Regions from separate parts of the Homo sapiens genome. Here all the other regions are linked to region 3. Evidence: promoter capture Hi-C in 16 types of primary human blood cells and fetal thymus (Javierre and others, 2016). All regions are on one chromosome and are shown on one strand. The core of a region is centred on a gene start or on the middle of the fragment in contact, and the rest is flanking DNA. Distances in the headings are between cores, read along the strand shown. Region 1 overlaps TMEM109 (transmembrane protein 109). Region 2 overlaps CD6 (CD6 molecule). Region 3 holds the start of VPS37C (VPS37C subunit of ESCRT-I).

Region 1 (4,167 bases), core at 7-2,506, 240 kb after region 3:
TGAGGGGAGAGCGGGGCAAGAGCTAAAAGGGTGGGAGGTGCTAGGCACATTGCAAAGGAATAAGCCGTTCTCGCAGACTCAGAGTGATATGGGTTGGAATCTCAGCTCTGTTTCTTGCTGGCTGTGAGGCCTGGAGTAGATTACTTGCTTCTGTTGAGCTGCAGTTTCATTTACTAAACGGGAACAATTCTACTGCCTCCCTGTACTGTGGCTGGCAATTAAATGAGATACTACAGCTCAGCACGATGCCTGATAGGAAGTGAACAACTGGCACGTGGTGGCGGAAGTTCTTTTTTAGGGGGTCTGGGTGGGACAGGGTTTTGCTCCATCGCCGAGGCTGGAGTGCAGTGACGTGATCCCGGCTCACTGCAACCTCTACCTCCTGGGCTCAAGCGATCCTCCCACCTCAGCTCCCAAGTAGCTGGGACAACAGACACACGCCACCATGCTTGGCTAATTTTTTATAGAGACGAGGTCTCATTATATTGCCCAGGCTGGTCTCAAACTTCTGGCCTCAAGTGACCCTCCTGCCTTGACCTCCCAAAGTGCTGGGATTACAGGCGGGAGCCACCACACCTGGCCATGGTAGTTCTTGGCTTGCTCTTTGGCCATGTCTCTGCAGAATCCTGGGAAGGGTTAAGCAGCTTGGGGAAAAGGCTAGACCCTGACAAAGATGAACTCCCACAAGTAGGAAAGTACAGGCAAAGCTCTGGCTGACTACCCAGCACTCGAACACTCACCAGCTAGTCCCAAGGCATTCAGCAGCTGTGCGGCGATCCCAGACAGAGCAAAGAAGGCCACAGAAATGGCTGATGAGATGGCCCACAACACTTGGGACGAAGACTGTGGAAAGAGCACGGAGCGAGATGAGTTCATAATGAACAACGGTCCTCGCCTTCACGCCTGATCACCACTGTCCAGGCAAGAACTGCAGGAATGTCTCAGACCTGTTTCTCACCCAGTGGTGACAGGCCTGGGTCAGAGGGTAGGGGCCTTGGGCCTGGCTGAGGGGTCCCTTCCACATCCACCTTCTAGTCTACAGGGATGGCCAACAGGCTGTCTCTCCTTCCTGAACTGGAAACTAGGGCATCTGGGACATAATTTAACTGCTTTGCTGGGATACTTTGGAGGGAGTAGTAGGTGTACTTGTGTGTGAATGACGGAGACAATCAAATACTTTTAGTAGTCACCCTATAAAACTGGAGGCCTGCTAGCTGTCCAGGGAGTCATGAAGGTGCGTGGAGAACATCTGTAAAGGGATAGGATGTTCCAGTGAAAAAGGAGTCTATCAGCTATACTATATTATGGATTTAATAAATGATTGTCTCAGCCCTTCAGTCCAGCCTATCAAAAGTATGTGATACCATGCTTGGGATGCCACCAGGTAAAAAAAGATAACCCTGCCTTAGGCTCCCAATAAGCTCAACCCACTTCTGCAGGTGAAGGAATGGATTCAGGACTTGATATTTTGCCATTTCGAGATTCTAGGTCAGATTTAGACCAAAGTGAGACTCTACAGTCACCCAGTAACATGGGCTTATAAAGATGGCTCATTTCCCAGCCTTTCTGGCAAGGAAAGGGCAGGAGCCAGGAAAGGATAGGGGTGGAGCTAAAAGGCCCTAGGACAGCAATCAAATAACGAGGAATTCAAAGACAAGTGCTGTGTGGCTTCTTTTTGTGGAATTTGGGGCTCTCTGCACCAGAGAGGATGTGGAACTAAGATGAGGTGGCCATTACCAACCTTTCTTCTTTTATTTTTCCTTAATGTGTGTAGTCACACAGGGACTACCTTCCTTACCTCTGACACCAGGTGCATGGTCTCTGGCCCAATCCAGGCATCCAGTGTCCCTCGCACAGATCGACCTATCTGGGTCAAGACATCAACTGGGGCTTCTCTCTTCTGTTGGCCTGGTGGTGCAAAGTCTCGACGGGACTGGGCCAATGCTGAGTGGAGGAGGATAAGGGCCACTAGGACCATCAGAATGGCTTTGAACACATGCTTTCCCCATGGTGAACTGATGCTGGAGGCTGCCATGACTGGGTCTGCCAGGAGAGAAGCACAGTGAGCTGAGTGCCATGGTAGACACACTCACCCTCTCAGCTCTGATTATCCCAACATCCTTCTCCACCCCTACCCCAAGCAAGCACCAAACTAACCCTGGAAAGAAAGTGCTGTTAGCTGGGAGAGGAAGGACTGGGACTTCCAACTGAAGCTGGGCACAACCATCTGACTCACAGGTTCCTCTTTCACATTCTTTACCACTTGCATATTAATTAACCAGCAAGTATTATTCAACACTTTAGAGTTGGCGAGAAGATCTCTCTAAGGTTTGTGCCAGTTCTAAAAATCTGAAGGCCTGTCCCTGTATCTTAGGTGCTATAGGCATAAAAGTATTATAAGACTCTATAAAGGCTCTGTCCCAAGGAGCTTATAATCTACTTAAGATACAGCTGGTATAAAAAACAACTTAAAAATAGCACACAAGTAGGATTACTGCCATATAATGGTATAAAGAAAAGTGCTCAGTTATGTGCTCAAACAAGAATAACTGCACATATGTCATCTTCTCTGCAGGACCATCATGTGAGGTGGCTTTTATCCTCCTCGCCCCTACTGGTACAGACGAGAAGAAACTGTGACTCAGAAGTTAAGCATTTTCCCATGGTCACTGGGCTACACAGAAAGGCCAGGATTTGAACCCAAGCTTCTGCTTCCACCCATCTTCATTAGGAGTCAAGTTATACTGTGGGTCTCAACCATGGCTGCTCACTGGAATCACCTGGAAGCTTCCCAAGTACTGATGTCTGTGTCCCCAGCCCAGAGGTTCTGATATCATTGTCTGGGTGTGGCCTAGCCTTGGATCTGCAAAAGCTCCCTAGGCAGTTCCACTGCATGAAGTTGAGAACCACTGATACAGAGTGACCTCACCTCCCCACCCCCAATGGAGGTGCTATGGTTTGAAGAGCAAAACTCATGTTGAAATTTAACTGTTCTTGCACCTCCTGCAGAGCCTGGGAGCTCCCAGTCCAGCCAAGGATGTTGGATCTCATGGTCCTAAGTACTTCTTTGACACCCCATTCCCCTCAGTAAAATAGTTTGACCCCTTCTCCACCAAAAAAAAAAAAAAAAGAAAGAAATTTAATTGCCATGATGATGGTATTAAAAGGTGGGACCTTTAAGAGGTGATTAGGTTATGAGGGTTCAGCCCTCATGAATGGATTAATGCCGTTATCTTGGGAGTGGATTAGTTATCCCAGGAATGCAGCTCCTGATAAAAAGGATGACTTTGGCCTGATTTCCTGTCTCTGTCTCATGTGCTGGGTTCTGCCTTCTGCCATAGGATGACCCTTGCCAGATGCCAGCGCCATGCCCTTAGACTTCCCAGCCTCTGGAACTGTGACCCTAATGAATTTCTGTTCATTATAAACTACGCAGGCAGTGGCATTCTGTTATAGGAAGCAGAAAATGGACGAGGACAGTGAGCAAGGGTATAATGAACAACCTTTAAAGAAATACTATTAATAAAAAGCTAACATTCAGCTAGGTCTTGCCATGCACCACCGCGCTCATTTAACTGTCACAACAGCCCATCGGGTAGGTGTTGCTATTATCCCCCATTTTACTGAAGTAATTGAGGCAGGTTAAGTATTAACTGGGGAAATCAGCATTTGAATGTAGGTACTTCTGACATTGGACCCCTCATACACAACAACTCTGCTGTATTGTCTCCAACTAAGTCTCAGAAGTGATTTAGAAAGTCATACAGGCCAGGCACAGTGGCTCATTCCTGTAATCCCAACACTTTGGGAGGCTGAGGTGGGAGGATTGCTTGAGCCCAGGAGTTTGGGAGCAGCCTGGGCAACATAGGAGACCCTGTCTCTACAAAATAAATATAAATAAATAAATTAGTCAGGTGTGGTGGTGCGTGCCTGTACTCCCAGCTATTTGGGAGGCTGAGGGGGGAGGATCACTTGAGCCCAGGAGGTCACGGCTGCAGTGAGCTATGATCATGCCACTGTATCCCATCCTGGGCAAGAGAGCAAGACGCTTAAAAAAAAAAGTCACACAACAGATTATTCATGAGTTAAAATAAACTTGGCATCTACCAATCATCTCAGTGAATTACTGGTGAAAATTACCTAACAACTTTGTGCTTTGTGCTCTGG
Region 2 (4,057 bases), core at 201-2,700, 180 kb after region 3:
TCCTGCTGGTGAGACTGAAGGCCCATGACGCTCCACAGACTCAAAAACTTCCTCCTTCAAGAACAAACAGCCGGGTTGTGTGAAGGTGCTGGCTGAGACTTCTTTTCTCTCTTTGCATTCCTTCTAATGTGGTTGTTATAACGTTTTTACAATAAGGATGACTAATGTTTACATCACATCTGAATTTTCAGCTAGCATTGGGTGGGAGTGATACCGAGGGTGAGTAGAATGGAGAGCAGCTATTACCAGGACCTTGGGTAAGTCCTTGCCCCGTTCCAAGGCCTCAGTTTCTCCATGGTTAAATGGGTGGGCTGGGCCTGTCAAATCCTTCCACCAGTTAGCAAAATGCTTCTCAAATCAGGTCTGAGTCAGAAAGACAGTTTAACATATAAGATTAAATGGAACTGAATCATGCAGTAAACAAATTATTCCTTTTCCAATTTTTCTGTCCGACTGCATTAAGGAGAAAGTCTCATTGTGCTGCTACTTAGTCTTTAACACCTAACACTTTTTGTTAAATTTTATTTTTGCAGAGATGGGGACATGCAATGTTGCCCAGGATGCTCTTGAACTCCTGGGCTCAAGCAACCTGCCTGTCTTGGCCTCCCAAAGTGCTGGCATGACAGGCATCAGCCACTGTGCCTGGCCACCTAACACTTCTTAATGAATGGAGAGACAGCTCATGCTTGGACGGCAGGCTATTTAATGACACTTTTGGTTTCAGTGTTTTCTTTGTTTATATATATATATTCTATTTACTTAAGTAGTATTGGTTTGAGATACATGATAGTGACAGATTTCTAAGTTCAAATAAACTTAAGTTTATAAAAGGAGAGGGTGGCCGGGTGCGGTGGCTTATACCTGTAATCCCAGCACTCTGGGAGGCTGAGACGGGCAGATCACCTGAGGCCAGGAGTTTGAGACCAGCCTGGCTAACATGGCGAAACCCCGTCTCTACTAAAAATACAAAAATTAGCCAGGCAATGGTGGTGCATGCCTGTAATCCCAGCTACTTGGGAGGCTGAGGCAGGAGAATCACTTGAACCCGGGAGGCAGAGGTTGCAGTGAGCCAAGATGGCACCATTGCACTCCAGCCTGAGCGACAAGAGCGAAACTCAGTCTCAAAAAAAAAAAAAAAAAAAAAAAAAAGGAGTGGGTGCAAGCTTCGGCGGTACATATACGAAAACTGGAACAATACAGAGAAGATTAGAATGACCCCTGTACAGGTATGACACGTGAATTCGTGAAGCGTTCTATATCTTTGTTTAAAAAAAGAAAAAAAGGAGTTGATGTACAAAATTCTTAAGTAATTGTATATGCATGAAGGGCAAATGAAATCACATCCTTCTACACCTAAAACTCTCTGATGAGCTCCCATTTCCCTTGGATTAATTCCAAACCCTATTATCTATGCCCTCAAGCCCTGCCAGCCTCTCCAACTCCATCTCCTTCACTCCTCCATCAGTCTGAAATCAATCTCATTCCTGCCTCAGGGCCTCCGCCCCTGCTCCTCCCCCTGACGGGAATGTCCTCTCCCTGATCTCAGCATTCCCAGCTCATCTCATCACTCAGGTCTATATCCCCTCCGAGGTTCTGCCTGTGTCTCCAGTGCAACCGCTCTCAGTCCCCTTACTTTGCCTGATTTCCCTTGGTGCACATATCCCTCTCTGAAATGATACTATTTTAAAAATGTGTTTATGTTTTTGGTCTATTTTCCCTATTAGAATAGAAGCTTCTTGAAGACCGGGACTTTGTCCCGTATCCTCAGTGGCTGAAAAAAAGTGCCTAACACATACTAGTAGCTCAACAAATGAATGGCAAAACTGTAAAGATGGAGGGAGAACTAGCCCTAAGGTGGAGAGGTGCTGACCCGGACTCCAATATCCGAGGCGGGGCAAGACAGCAGCCACCAGAGGCACAGTGGAAAGGGAGCTCAAACCTTGGCCTCATTAGTACCAGCCTGCCATGCACTGAGCCACCTGCCTCCCTCCCACGGAGGCAGCAAAGAGAGCCGAGTCAGCAACTATTAATGAAGAAGGAATGGTGGAATTATAATATCACCACCAGGTAACCATCCTTATAATAACTGATTCCGGCAAGAATCAACAATAATGTTACAACTAGTGGGCAAAGGTTTGAGGAAGAGTAAGATATTTACATATTCTCAAAGAATCTACCCACAAGATACATGTTAATTACAAAGGAGGAAATTATCTTTACAGCAGAGAAATCTAGCAGACAACACCTTAGCCAAGCAAGTTAGACCACCGGAGAGGGGACATGGAGAGCCCATGTGCCTCCTGATATGATTCACTGGGAAGGACAAAACGTGCTTCTGTGATATTCCTGCCAAACAGGCATGACTTAAATGGAACCATGAAGAACCATCAGACAACCCAGATGAGGGCCATTTTACAGAATAACTGCTCTATGCTTCAAAAAGATCAATGACATGAAAGAGAAAGAAAATCTGAGAAATCATTCCAGATTCAAGGAGAATAGAGAGACGAGAATTAAACGCAGCATACTGAACAAAATTTCTTTTGTCTTAGAAGATATTATTGGAACCATTGGCAAAATCTGAATAAATTCTGTCGATTATCCAATAGAATTGTATCAGCATTAATTATCTGGTTTTGATAAGTACACTGTGGTTATGTAAGAAAATGTCCGTATGTAAAAAAAAAAAACAACAACAAAAACACACGTTGGGGTATTTAGGAGAAAGGGACATTACAACCTTCTCTCAAACAGTTTAGGGGGAAAGCAATAGAAAAACAGACACATTGAGAGGAAATAATAAAGCAAATGTGGAAAATTGTTAGCAGTTGGAGAGTCTGAGGGAAGAGCATGGGGAAATTCTTTGTATTGTTCTTGCAACTTCTCAGTAAGTCTGAAATTAGCCTGAAATTAAAAGTTAAGTGAAAAAACAGGCCAGGTGCAGTGGCTCGCGTCTGTAATCCCAGCACTTTGGGAAGCTGAGGCAGGAGGATCGCTTGAGGTCAGGAGTTAAAGACCAGCCTGACCAACATGGTGAAACCCCGTCTCTACTAAAAATACAAAAACTAGCGTGGTGGTGCGGGACTGTAGTCCCAGCTACTCGGGAGGCTGAGGCACGAGACTCGCTTGAACCTGGGAGGTGGAGGTTGCAGTGAGCCGAGATCACAACACTGCACTCCAACCTGGGCAACAAGAGTGAGACTCCGTCAAAAAAAAAAAAAAAGTGAAGTAAAAAAACAAAGAGGAGGCAGAGCCTGAGGACTGGAGGAGCCGTTGGAGGGGCTGGGCAGAGTAGCTACATGAAGCCAGCATGTCACTGCCCAGGGTCACCTGTGTTCATGTCAGACCATGTCAGGCCACACTGGGCCATAGCAGTCCCCCGCATTCTCTCTAGGGGTGGGGGTGGGGAGTTAGTTAAGCCTGTGCCTGGTTCACACAGGCCCCGCCATGCCCTGCTGGGCAGCGTGGGAAGAGGCCCTGGAAAGAGTCCCTGCAGACTGGGCTTCTCAGCCCTGCTCCAAGACCCTGGGGCATGTCGTTCCCCACTTCGCACCTCGCTTTCCTCCTCTGACAAACAGGAGATGGCTGGCAGCTCGCTGGGGTTTCTTCCAGCTCAGACATTGTCATACTTCTAGAATCCCATCCCGGCAAAGCAACATATTTCTCCAAGGAGCTGAATCCATTTGGCAACTGTGCATCCTTTAGTTTGGTTGAAGGAGGGAGGGAGGCAAAACGAGAGCACACCAAATGGAGTGGGGAACGGGCCTCCTCCAGGCCTGGGGGGCTTCCTCAGCTCTGTCTCCCCGCGCCCGCCTGCTCCCAGGCACCCCTCCTGAAAGAGGTGAACACCCTAGCAAAAAGGGTACTGAAGTGCAGATAAACATCCTCCCTCCAAACCCCAGTGACCAGAAGTGACTCTGCTCCCAGCTCTGTCAGCCACTGGCGGCGTTACTTAAGCTCTTGGGCTTCAGTCTGTCCTTCTGTAAAATGAACAGAGTCACGCTTGGCTTTGCATCTGACTCCGAGGACACAGTGACTTCATTTCTGCCTTCTCCCT
Region 3 (4,018 bases), core at 1,290-3,789:
TCCTATGGTCGCCTCATGGTTCAAGATGACTACACTTGCTCCAGCCATCATGTCCATGTCCCACCTTCCAACATGGTACTAATCAGTGAAGAGATTGCTGGATATAAACTCAAGCTAATCCATCAATAGTGTTTCCTAATTATTTTCCTTCAGAAATGAAACACATGCAGAGTTAAAAATCACATAGCAGCTGGGCGTGGTGGCTCACGCCTGTAATCTCAGCACTTTGGGAGGCCGAGGTGGGTGGATCACCTGAGGTCAGGAGTTCGAGATCAGCCTGGCAACATGGTGAAACCCTGTCTCTACTAAAAATACAAAGACTAGCCGGGTGTGGTGGTAGGCGCCTGTAATCCCAGCTACTTGGGACGCTCAGGCAGGACAATCACCTGAACCCAGGAGGCGGAGGTTGCAGTGAGCAGAGATCACACCATTGCACTCCAGCCTGGGCAACAAGAGAGAAACTCCGTCTCAAAAAAAAAAAAAAATCACATAGCACAAAAAGGCTTATGACAAAAAATTAAGGTCATCTGCCCTGGCCCTCCCTAACCCTCAGAAACAATTTCAACCTAGCTTTCAAACAGGTGCTGTCAATGGGAGTCACTCTGACATTCTGTACCAAGTGAAATGTTTGCAAAACCAACATGCCCCCGCTCAAAGGAGTCACCAGTGTCTCAGAAGGGTCAGCAGCTGACCTTCTTCATGGACCCCTTCTGTTATAAGAAGGAGTTTTGACAAATTCAGTTTGACAGAGTTTAATTGAGCAAATAATGATTTGTGAATCAGTCAGCCCCCAGAACCAGAATAGGTTCAGAGTGACTCTGAGGCTGCCAGGTGGTTGGATAACATTTAGGGATAGAAAACGGAAAGCAGGTTGGGCGTGGTGGCTCATGCCTGTAATTCCAACACTTTGGGAAGCCGAGGCTGGAGGATTGCTTGAGTCCAGGAGTTCCAGACCAGCCTGGGCAACATAGCGAATCTCCATTTCTATTAAAAAATAATCATTAAAATTTAAAAATAAGAAAAGAAAAAGGAAATAGATGTCCAGAAAACAGAAGCGAGGTACAGAAACAGTTGGACCAGTTATGTAAGCGCAGAACCAGCCCCATCTGGTTCAACTTTGTGTAATAAAGTGGTGAGTTGTTTTTTCAGTTGCCATGATCCCAGGTTGCAAGTTATGTAACCTGAGCGTGCCCAGAAGAACCAAGCATGCAACCACAGGCGCAACCTAAATGCTCAGACCAAAGAACCGGAACAGAATTAAGAAGTAGATACATGGTATAAGCCATGATCTAATCAGATTGAGCCATGGCATCATCCCATGGCAAGATCCAGTCAGATCATTGCTTATTGCAAGATTCAATCAGATCACTGCTCATTACCCTCTGCCTATAACACCTGTCACAGCCCCTGGCTTGGGGAGACAGATTTGAGCATGTCTCCTTCCCAGTTGACTTGCAACAAATCTTTCCCTCTACAAAAACCTGATACTTCGGTGTTTGGCTTTCTGAGGGCAAAGGGATCCAGTTTGGTTCCCTACCAATGACAGATTGACATTTGCCTTATTGGAACAAGGTTTGAACAGGTGGCTGCCTGTGATTGGCTGAAACTCTGTGATTGGTATGAGTAGGATCCAGTTCACTATGTACGGAGAAACCTTTAGGACAAACTTAAGATACGCCAGGAGACAACTTTAGGCTAAACTGGACACTTCTCCCCTTTTGGTCAACCTCTTGATTTTGAGAGGTTGGAAACTTTAGACATTGACATCAGTTACCATTGTAAATAGACTTATTTGGTCTCAAATTCCCCTGGGAAATAGCAGAGCAGTGGGTTTCATAGGTGGGAAAGGGAACAGAATAGAAAAAAAAAAAAAAACACCTGATTAGTTAACATCAGGTCACTTCAGATTCCTTTTTTTAAGGGTTAGAGCAGAGGGGGCTTCCTTATTATGCTGGACTCTCCTGTTTCCAGGGGGGAAGGGAGGAGATGGGGAATACTGGTAATTCTGTAGAATGAATGGGTGGGGGAAAGAGATTAACTAGTAAATGGAAATGAGTGTGTGGTGGCCTTGGGGCTCCTCAGTCTGAGCTCAGCCCATCTGGGGCTCCTCCTAGGTTCTGGGCTTCCATCTGCTTCCCCCTCCTTTTGGGTCCCTCTGAGAAGCCTCCCAAGATCGAGCTGTGTACAGAGCGAGTCCTCGCTGGCCACTCGGAAGGCGGCGGACGTCCGCGCCGGCGCACTAGCCCAGAGCGGCCTGGTCTCCGCCCAGTGGGCGGGGCCTCTTACCGGGGGCGGGGCCGAGGCGTGCGGCGAGCGCTGGAGGGGTCTCGTGGGCGCTCCCGTGGTTGTGGCCCGGGCGGCCGCGAGCGTGTGTGTGTGGCACGATGTCGTGGTAACTCAGAGGCGCGCGAGGCGGGGCGGCCAACGGGGTCGCGGGGCGAGCACGCGCGCCACTGGGGCGCCGGACGTTGCAAGGGGGTCACATCCGGTAGGGGGCGGGCCTGGCGGACCCCGGAAGTGTGGGCGCGGCTGCGGTTTAACCCGCGGTGGCGGCGGCGACGGCGGCCCTGGCAGGTGAGCGGAGACTGGGGAGGGTCCCGGCTCTGCCGCAGGCGGGCGGGGCAGAGGACGACGGTGGGGGCGGCGCCGGCCGTGGCTCCCGGAGCGCCCCCGCCTGCCCGCCTCATCCTGGCAGAGGCCGGTGATTGGGCACGAGGGGCGCGTGACTCTCGCCGGGGGCCGGCGCCCCTGCCCCTCGCGGTGGGAGGGAGGGAGGGAGAGCGCGAGGCGCCGCCCCGGCTCCCCGGCGGGTCGCACCTCCAGTTCCGCCCCACCACTCACCGCCACCCTCCTTTCTGCGTCTCTGCAGGCCCTCGTCCCATATGTGAGCATCTTGCGGTCACAATTCTGATGACATTAGAGCCAATTAGCCCATTGTATAGATGGGGAAGCTGAGGCCTAAGAGTAGGGTCCGACTTGCCAGAGGGCACGCGGGAGACGAGTGGCAGAGGGGAGGTTGGAGGGACTTTGCTCTGTGACTTACTGGCTTGTGCCCTTTCTCCAGGGCATTGAGAGATGGGAGTTTCAGCTTTGGCTTTGTTCAGGACTCAGACTTGGACCTCCCAGCATCACTGAACATTTCTTACCCCGGGACCCTCTGGGCGCAAAGGGCACTGATGTATACATACCCATTATATGCCTGGTTCCTCTTCATTTCCTCCTCAGCCGATGAGGCGATTTCCCACTTTACGGATGGGAGAAGGAGTTAACTGGAGGTGTTTTGTGAGTTACTGGCAGAGTGGACTCTACAACCTGGGGTTTTAGTCGCTGAGCTGAGGCAGTGCTTTCCCAGCTACACCTTGTCTGGGCTCACTTACCCTGGGAATGTCAGTCTTCAGCTCCAGAAACTTCCCACTCATTTCCCTTCGCTCCAGCGGTACCTCAGTTCTCTTGCTGCCTAAGGCCTTTTCCACCCTCTTTATTGGCTCCAGGAGTCCCATTTCCTACTAATGCACCAAGATGCTGCCACCAGACTCTCAGTTCTGTGACTTTTGGCCTTAGAGCTGGAGGTGGTGGTGACCGAGGAACTGGGGAAAGAAAGACTCTTACTTTGTTGTCCAAAGCTGCAACCCTGCAGACACCTGAACTCTGTAGTTCCGGGTGGGATCGGGGACTGTTGCAATGAAAATACTGGACGCTAAACTGAGTCTTTGTTCTTTGCGGTCATAGTGCCCAGAAAAGCCTTTTACCTAGATTATCTTGGAAATGTGGTTCCGTGCCTTTGTAATTTCCATTAAGTAGAACATTTTCATTGTAGACTTTCTGAGCAGTTTCTGGCCGCTGTTTTGCAGGTAGCAATAGCTGTGATTTGTTGCTTGGCTTCATATGCTGGGCACTGTTCTAGGGCTTTCTGAACATACCGAATTTTGCGAACATGTCCAAATAGGTGATGATCCCGTTTTACAGATGAAGTGAGTTGCGGAGATGTTAGATAACCTGGCTAGTGTCACACAGCCAG

Evidence for each region. The method cuts DNA at HindIII sites, captures the fragments that hold promoters and counts their contacts. A CHiCAGO score of 5 or more calls a contact.
Region 1: a contact is called between a fragment that was not itself captured here and the fragment with the promoter of VPS37C in region 3, in 11 of 17 cell types (non-activated CD4 T cells, naive CD8 T cells, activated CD4 T cells and 8 more). The highest score is 16.5, in non-activated CD4 T cells.
Region 2: a fragment that was not itself captured here is called in contact with the fragment with the promoter of VPS37C in region 3 in 7 of 17 cell types (naive CD8 T cells, endothelial precursors, non-activated CD4 T cells and 4 more); the score reaches 6.9 in naive CD8 T cells.

Annotation. Positions count from the first base shown.
Region 1 is chr11:60,917,562-60,921,728 of GRCh38, reverse strand. TMEM109 (transmembrane protein 109) reads right to left here. Exons shown (of 4, transcript NM_024092.3): 2 at 1,799-2,043; 3 at 741-843. The coding sequence starts at 2,035. It overlaps LOC124902676 (a long non-coding RNA gene), which reads left to right. Exons shown (of 2, transcript XR_007062688.1): 2 at 2,576-4,113. Among named protein-coding and RNA genes, the nearest start is that of TMEM132A, 4.8 kb to the left of the region's middle. RefSeq lists an enhancer at 1,693-2,892. The HindIII fragment of the contact is 2,902 bases long and covers 1-2,707 here.
Region 2 is chr11:60,982,267-60,986,323 of GRCh38, reverse strand. All of the region lies in intron 1 of CD6 (CD6 molecule), which reads right to left. It also overlaps the pseudogene RNU6-933P. Among named protein-coding and RNA genes, the nearest start is that of CD6, 13 kb to the right of the region's middle. The HindIII fragment of the contact is 569 bases long and covers 1,166-1,734 here.
Region 3 is chr11:61,159,947-61,163,964 of GRCh38, reverse strand. It overlaps VPS37C (VPS37C subunit of ESCRT-I), which reads left to right and starts at 2,539. Exons shown (of 5, transcript NM_017966.5): 1 at 2,539-2,574. RefSeq lists enhancers at 1,950-2,089, 2,100-2,149, 1,890-2,482, 2,483-3,076 and a silencer at 2,140-2,899. The HindIII fragment of the contact is 11,808 bases long and covers 1-4,018 here.